Regions from separate parts of the Homo sapiens genome. Here region 1 is linked to region 2. Evidence: promoter capture Hi-C in human tissues and cell types (Jung and others, 2019). All regions are on one chromosome and are shown on one strand. Each heading gives the region's core, a stretch centred on a gene start or on the middle of the fragment in contact. The rest is flanking DNA. Distances are from core to core; before and after follow the strand shown. Region 1 overlaps CACNA2D1 (calcium voltage-gated channel auxiliary subunit alpha2delta 1). Region 2 holds the start of CACNA2D1 (calcium voltage-gated channel auxiliary subunit alpha2delta 1).

Region 1 (3,678 bases), core at 1,046-3,545, 59 kb before region 2:
GAGGGGAGTGGGCAGTGGGCGGGATGGCAGTCCTCCAGAGAAAAAAGGAAAGTGACCCCTTAAATCAGAGAATGACCTTTTATTTGTTATTAGTTGTCTAAGTAAGTGTAAGGGGACCACCTCCTCCATAATGCGCTTTGTGAAACGGTAAATGTTACATGGCCTAAAATGGTGCTTCTGAAAAGATTAGATGAATTATTGGTATTTAAAACTAATTAAGTGACATGTTCAGATATCTAGACAGGGCATAAAATCTATTATATAACTGGTGTTCAAAAACATTTACTGTTTGTTCCACAAACAAGAACGTAAATGTATTTGGAGACATTTCTGCATGAAATATATCATGGTAACAAGGGATTTACAGAACACTTACTAAGTTTCTCACTAAGGTTTGACATTCAGCCATTCAATACTTCTGTTGAAATGGTATTGTGATTTCTTCTAAATCTTCAGCTCCACAGTTGTAAAAGAAGGACTCACACTTATATTTTATCTAGTAACCTAAAAGTCAGCAGAAATTTTAAAATAAACCCACTAGGTATATTTACACATTTGCCGTTTAGAACACAGCCTTGAACAAGAAAAACAGATCATAAGTCATGTTAGGTATCTGTCTGCACTAGACAAGTTTACAGAAATTGTTCTTCAGTTTCTTTTATTGAGATTTTTGGGCCACTAATCTGTTCCAAAAGAGAAAAAAACTGGCCCTGAGGCTCAACTTTTCCATCCCAAGGATGCTTGTAGGCAAGACTGCCAGCGGTACCACTGCCACTCTGAACTAAAAACTGCTTGCCATTCAATTATTCATATTCAGCCCTTCTAGGGGAGAGAAAGCACTAAAGAGAAATAGAGCAGCAAAAATGTAGACATAGAAAGTAGGAAGAAGATTTGTAATAGTTACATGGGAAAAGGGAATCACAGAAGAATGATGTTATTTAAAATAGGTGATAGAACAGACTCAGGAATTCCAATAAAAATGGACAGTACCCTTGGTCTTCATACATACAAAATGAAATAGTGGCAAATATGCTCAAAAAGGTACACAGTTCCGTGAAATGCTGAATTACCTGATCCTCTCAGAGTAGGAACAAGCCCAGTATTTTTAATGCTTTTGGTTTATCACCTGAGCTGTGCCAGGCACCCACCTCCACAGGAACTTTTATCACTTTGCCTACATTCTCCTATTATGAGTTAAGTATATTTGATACCAATGTTTATTTACTAATATACACATGCTAGGTGACTATTTTGTTCAAAGTTCTTTCCATATAAATTAAGATTTCCAATACTGACAGTAGCAAACATTTATAAAGTACCTCTTCACACTGACACATGTAGATTATCAAAATTTTACACATTTGAAAAAAACAAATAATTATTTAGAACAAACAAGCCAAAGCAGCTGCTGCAAAAATATGTGAGTCTATATGAGGTACATTTCCACCATGTAAAGTCAAGAGGCTGTTGAAAATAAGAAATTGTGAGAGATACAGAAAAACTACCTCCTTTTCGGTTATAGTATATACTGAAACCTCTCATTTATCACATTTCATCTGACTAAAACCAAGAGAATTAAGGTGACAATTGAAGACGTCACCAGGGGTATTTTGGTTTTGGTTTGAATGCTGTAGACTGAATTGTCTCCCCCAAAAAATGTGTATGTTGAAACCCTAAACTCCAGTGTGTCCGTATTTGGAGAAGGGGCCTTTGCAAGGCAATTAGGGTTAGATGAGATCATGAGTATGAGGCCCTCATAATGCATTTAGCAGCTTTATAAGAAGAGAGAGAGAAAGACTGTTCTTTCTCCAGCATGTGAAGACACAGCATGCAGGTAGTTACATGCAAGCCACAAAGAGAGCTCTCACCAAAACTTGAATGAGTCGGCACCTTATTCTTGGACTTCCAGCCTCCAGAACTGTGAAAAATAAATGTCTTTCATTTAAGCCACCCAGTCTATGGTTTTTCTTATAGCAGCCTCAGCAGAGTTGTAAAATATTTTGAAATTAAAAAAAAAATCACTGGTAAAGGAGAAGTGAAGAAGAAGAAGAGGGAGGAAAAGTGAAGTGAAGAAGAGGGAGGAAAAAAGAAAAAACTTTTGTCTGGAAAGAACTTGTTTTATAATGTGAAATAAACATTTTGTTAAATGCTAAGGATAAAAGAAATGTAAAGCTTGTTTGTCTTGTATATAAATGACAAAAATGGCACTTTTCATGTAATTTGAGATCAGTAGACGTTAGGACAGAAATCAACAAAAAATATATCTCACTGCCAAAAACAGCAGAGATGGAGTTCTTTTTTACTGAATGTTGATGCAAGACACAAGAGAAAACTTTGGGGCATGATGTAAGAATCAATTAATGCACATAAATGGAGCATAAATCACATTAATGTATTGCAATGCTCTTGCACACTTTAGCCCCTACTGAAACACAGGCCTAATATAAAAGCTTTCTCCTCTGTAGGCATTAATGACTCCCTCCCCTTCCTTGTCCCAACATCTTTTATGAAACTTCACCACTGCACAAGACAATGAACCTAAACTCCAGCCTTCCCTCTGGATTGCAAGCTACTGGAGGAGCACGATTGTATGTTGCTCAGCTTATGCTGTGCTCGTCTGTCCCTTTCTGTCCCTGCTACTGGCCATCCAAAGAGGCCGGAATCTTCACTCCCACTGCTGGAATAAGAAAGTTCAGAATGTCAAATTGAAATGGATCATAACTTACTACAGAAGGAATTATTAGTTATTTAGAGAAAAAGACTTTCTCATACATACTTTTTCTCCCACATCTCCACCTCCATCCTCTTTCCCTGATGCTTACAAATGTCTTCCACTGATGCTCATGACGATAAATGAACACAAAAGTCTGGTGATAAAATATAGTTGAAATAGTCCATTGTAACCCTATGTGGTACAATATGGGTTAAATTAGCTCTACAAACTGGTGTGGGAACCTGTTGTTTTAATGCTAACATATTGTCTGTTTTCCAAAACATTTTTGCAAATGTATTTTTGGAACACTACAGCCAGATACCACTTACACTAGTACAGTTTCAGACATTATATTTAAGGGGTTTTTTGGTTGTTTTGTTTTGTTTTGTTTTGTTTTGTTTTTTTGAGACAGAATCTCTCTCTGTCGCCCAGGCTGGAGTATAGTGGTGCAATCTCGGCTCACTGCGACATCCATCTCCCAGGTTCAAACAACTCTCCTGCCTCAGCCTCCCGAATAACTGGGATTACAGGAACCTGCCACCATGCCCAACTAATTTTTGTATTTTTAGTAGAGACGGGGTTTCACCATGTTGGCCAGGCTGGTCTCCAACTCCTGACCTCAAGTGATCCACCTGCCTCGGCCTCCCAAATTGATAGGATTACAGGCGTGAACCACCATGCCCAGTCTATTTTTATTATATAATATGAGCTACATTCTAGCATTAATATTTAGGTTTAGAGTTGTAAACGCATTAGAAATGACTGAACTAGAATTTTTTTCAGGTAATTTCAAAATATTTTTGGTTCTTGGAATGACTATGCATTCTTGGAATCCGCAAAGTGCCCTGGAGACCACCAGCTACCATTAAGTAAGCAGCAATTCTGCCTGTTGAAATGACAATACCCACTGCAATAACTGCATTCAGCAAGGGGAAAAAAATACTATAGTACTGCATATTCTTCCC
Region 2 (3,708 bases), core at 384-2,883:
TCTTGCACTGACACCTAAGGTAATAAATACTTAAAACTGAATCTTAAATAATAGCCGCAGGATTTCAACCGCTAAAGATTCACTGTTACTTTCCACCAAAAACTCCTGTATTCAGCACTCAGCCAACAAAGGACAGCAAGTAATTCCCAGCAGCATAAATACCGGGAAAGCTACCTTGGGCTTTGTTTTTGTTATGTAAAATGCATTAAAGTGACTCATCCACTTAAGATTACCTACCTTTAGAAGCTTTAAAGAAGCTCCAAGAACCAAAATAAATGCTTTCCCAGAATGCCGGATAGGCTATTCGGTGCATTAAAAAATATGTATATATTTATATGTGCCATTGAGTTTGATTCTATTTTGCTAAGAAAGGAGAGAATTATTATTTTTCATTCCCTTCCTGTGGTGTGACTATAGCTACCTATAAGCCCTCTATTTCCAGAACAGCAGCGAGGTTTTTAAAAGTTATTTTAGAAATGGTAAAAATAAAAGAAAATTTGTAGGAGACTGGAAATAGTCCCTCCTTCAAAGAATAGGCTCTATTCATTTGAAGAACAGGGACCGCGTGTCTGCCGACACTTAGATGTTTCAAATAATGGGTTGGGGAGGTTGGATCGCGTGGTCCCAGTACCTGCGAGCCCCCTGCGTGGACAGCACGCTCGGCCGCGGGGAGCCAGCACGCGTCTAATCGGAAGGCTGTCAAGTGCATCCAGTAACGTGGGATAAAACGAGTTTGGGCACTACAGCAATTAAAGAGCATCTCCGAGGCCAAGTGCGGGGGAAGTCCACGCTACCTCGGCAAGCCTGAAATTACCTGTTTGTAAATTACCCAACCAAAACATAACTTTTTATTGAACTGGGTTGAATCAGAGCGGGTGAGCTGGCTGGAAACTTTTTTCCCCAGTACGGCTGCACTCTGAAGTCTAGAGAATCCCGTTAGAGACGGGCTGAGACGCCGCGAGTCGTCGGCGGGCGCTTCCCGGGACAGTCGGCCCCCAGTGCCCGGCCCCGTGGAGGCGCCCGAGACGCCGGTTCGGGACGCATTCCAGCGGCGAGCGGCGCGCACCGCCTGCCCGGCGTCTCCGCATCCGAGCCTGGCTCCCCGGCCGCTCGCTCCCCACCCCCACGGGCGGAAAAGCCCCGCGACTCGGGAACCGACCCCCACCCCCAACTCCCGCGGCGCCCCTCGGCCGGCGCTCCCTGCCCGGCCCGCCGACTTACGTGACGGCCGAAGGGAACGGCTCCTCCGACGAGGGGCCGATGAGCAAAGATTGGAAAAGTGTCAGAGTCAAGGCCAGCAGGCAGCCAGCAGCCATCTTCGCGATCGAAGATCAATGCCCCCTCCCTGCCCAAGCGGGGGAAGGAGCGGCGCTGGAAACCGCGGGCGGAGGAAGAGCAGCACACGCCGCCGGGACCGCGGGCGTCTGGAGGGCTGGCTGCGCCCGGGGCCCGAGGCGCGGAGCCGCGCGGGGGACGGCAAGGGCGGGAGCGGACGCCGAGGAAGGGGCGGTGGCGGGCGGACCCACTAGCGTGCGTCGGCTGCTCCGCGCCGCGGCCGCCTTGCCTCCGCCGCCATCAAGGGCGACTTTGGAAACAGACCTCGGCGAGCCCGCCGGCGCTCGCGCGCTCTCGCTCTCCCTCTCGGTTTCCTCCCTGATTTATTCCCCCGATTGCCGAGGCGAAGGCGGAGGCGGGGGCGGGGGCGGAGGAGGGGTGACGGCGCTGGAGGGTGGGGGTGGCTGCAGGAATCGGGGAATGGCAGGCAGAGAGACTTGTGGAAGCGAGAGGCTCCGTCTGGCTTCTTAGGCAAGTCAGAGGGAGGCGGCTGGGGGTGGGCAGCGGGAGGGCTGGGCGTCAGAGCAGTCGGGCGGAGACGGGCCGGGAGCAGCCCTCCATACAAGGCAGCCAGGAACTCCCAAAGTCGGCGCCGGCTCGCTCCCGCCGCCCGGCGTGCGCAGGCGGAGCGGACCAGCCCCGCGGGGCTCCCGGGGGACGGCCAGCCGCCCAGCGGGCATCCACAGGCTGCAGAGGCTCCAACCCAGGACTTGGCTCGCGTCTTCGGGGGTTATTTTTGCACATGCAGGCAGCGTTCCCCCCCAGCCCTACTCCCAGGCGCAGAATCCAGTGCCTGCCTGGGAATCGTGAAGTGATTTGACAACAAATGTAGGAGGGGTTTGTATTGCATTTTAAAGCACCACTGTTGACTCTCTACCAGGTGGCACTATATGCCCGCGTGTGCCATAGGTTAGAGCCTCTGCCGGGGCTGGGTGCCCTTTGTGCCAGCGGTCCCACGCCCAGGTACTGCTCGGCTCACCTGGCGAGGACAGAGCCTCAGGGACCGGGCTGTGGACGGACAGAGAAGTACTGACGCTGTAAAATCTTCCCAGCCCTGTGGTTCCATTGGACAGAGGGGTGGAGGGACGAATTCTGCATCTAGGGAGGACAGTAGTAAGAGAAGCGCTTTGCAGCATCCCAGTTGGGACTACCTCCAAAAGGGTCCTAACGCCCTGCTCTGGCCACTGGCCTGCCCTGCCTGACAAGGTTACCGCAGGGTGAGCTCACTTTTGTCAATGCGAAGGCATGAAAAGGGTAAGCAGCAGGAACAGGTGGCACTCTGAGAAATGCGCCTGAAATGTAGAGGAGGAATTAAGGGAGGGGGAGAGAGCTAGGGAGTAGCAATGCCGGACTGGTTTTATCTCCAGACTCAGAGGAAGCAGTGGCGGGCTTTCTCCTTGAAAAGACAGGGTCTGCGACTAGGCCTCTCCCGCCCAACACAGGCCTCCTACAAGAGGGCCCTGGTGGGCCAAAGATAGAAATATATTCTTGCACACCTTAAATTCTTAAGCTCCCTCTAGTAGTGTATGAGAATACTTTTGACATGACGTGCAGAGAATACAATTTGTGATGACTATCCTGCATATGCAAAAATTCTGTAAGTATCGGGGTGGCTGTCAGATTTTTAATTAGCCCGTTCTTATTTTTAGGAGATGCTTCTGAAAGAAAAAGACCCTTATTAATTCGAAATGAATTTTCCAGCTCTCTGAAGGCAATCTCCCAAAACAAAGACTAATAATAATACTACTACTATTAATTACTGGCCAAATTTTAAGAGCGTGTGTGATTTTATGATGCTTAGCCTGGTGAATTTATTTTTCCTTCCCACTTATTTCTCCTTTTTTTAATGCCTTATTTGTTTTCTTTATGTTCTTCGCATCTCTGTCTTGCTCTTTGTTTCTTTCTACTCTGAGTGGCCTCACAAAAGGCACCCCACCGTGACTTAACTTAGTTTGTTTTATGCTAGGCATGGATACTGTGGCAGCAGGAGCTGCGCAAATGAGGGATGAAGTGGGATGTAATGGGATTGAGAACTACAGCTCAGGAGGGATATTTTATATAACTGAAGATAGCATTCCACTCCAAAATTAGATAAGTAAATAGTCAAATCCATCATTTCTTCCATTTTTAATAATTCAAAAGCAGACTTTCTTCCCCAGCATGAGGACTAAGAAGAGCAGAATTAGAGATGCCCATTATTGTCTATGTGATATGTTGGTATCAATAGCCTCACTACCTAAAAATACCATTGTTATATATTCTGTCAATTATTTCAACATCAACTCCAGACTTCCCACTATGGTACACTGTTTCCAATTTTATATCTTTAGGAGAAAGGGCTTAAAGAATAAAAGAATGTAATAAGCTTGTAGA

Evidence for each region. Contacts are between HindIII fragments. The study calls those that stand out against the background at their distance.
Region 1: a fragment that was not itself captured here is called in contact with the fragment with the promoter of CACNA2D1 in region 2 in 2 of the 25 tissues and cell types used here (IMR-90 fibroblasts and neural progenitor cells).

The regions. Positions count from the first base shown.
Region 1 is chr7:82,382,565-82,386,242 of GRCh38, forward strand. All of the region lies in intron 1 of CACNA2D1 (calcium voltage-gated channel auxiliary subunit alpha2delta 1), which reads right to left. Among named protein-coding and RNA genes, the nearest start is that of CACNA2D1, 59 kb to the right of the region's middle. The HindIII fragment of the contact is 5,768 bases long and covers 1-3,678 here.
Region 2 is chr7:82,442,144-82,445,851 of GRCh38, forward strand. CACNA2D1 (calcium voltage-gated channel auxiliary subunit alpha2delta 1) reads right to left here and starts at 1,634. Exons shown (of 39, transcript NM_000722.4): 1 at 1,222-1,634. The coding sequence starts at 1,316. RefSeq lists an enhancer at 76-639. The HindIII fragment of the contact is 9,545 bases long and covers 1-3,708 here.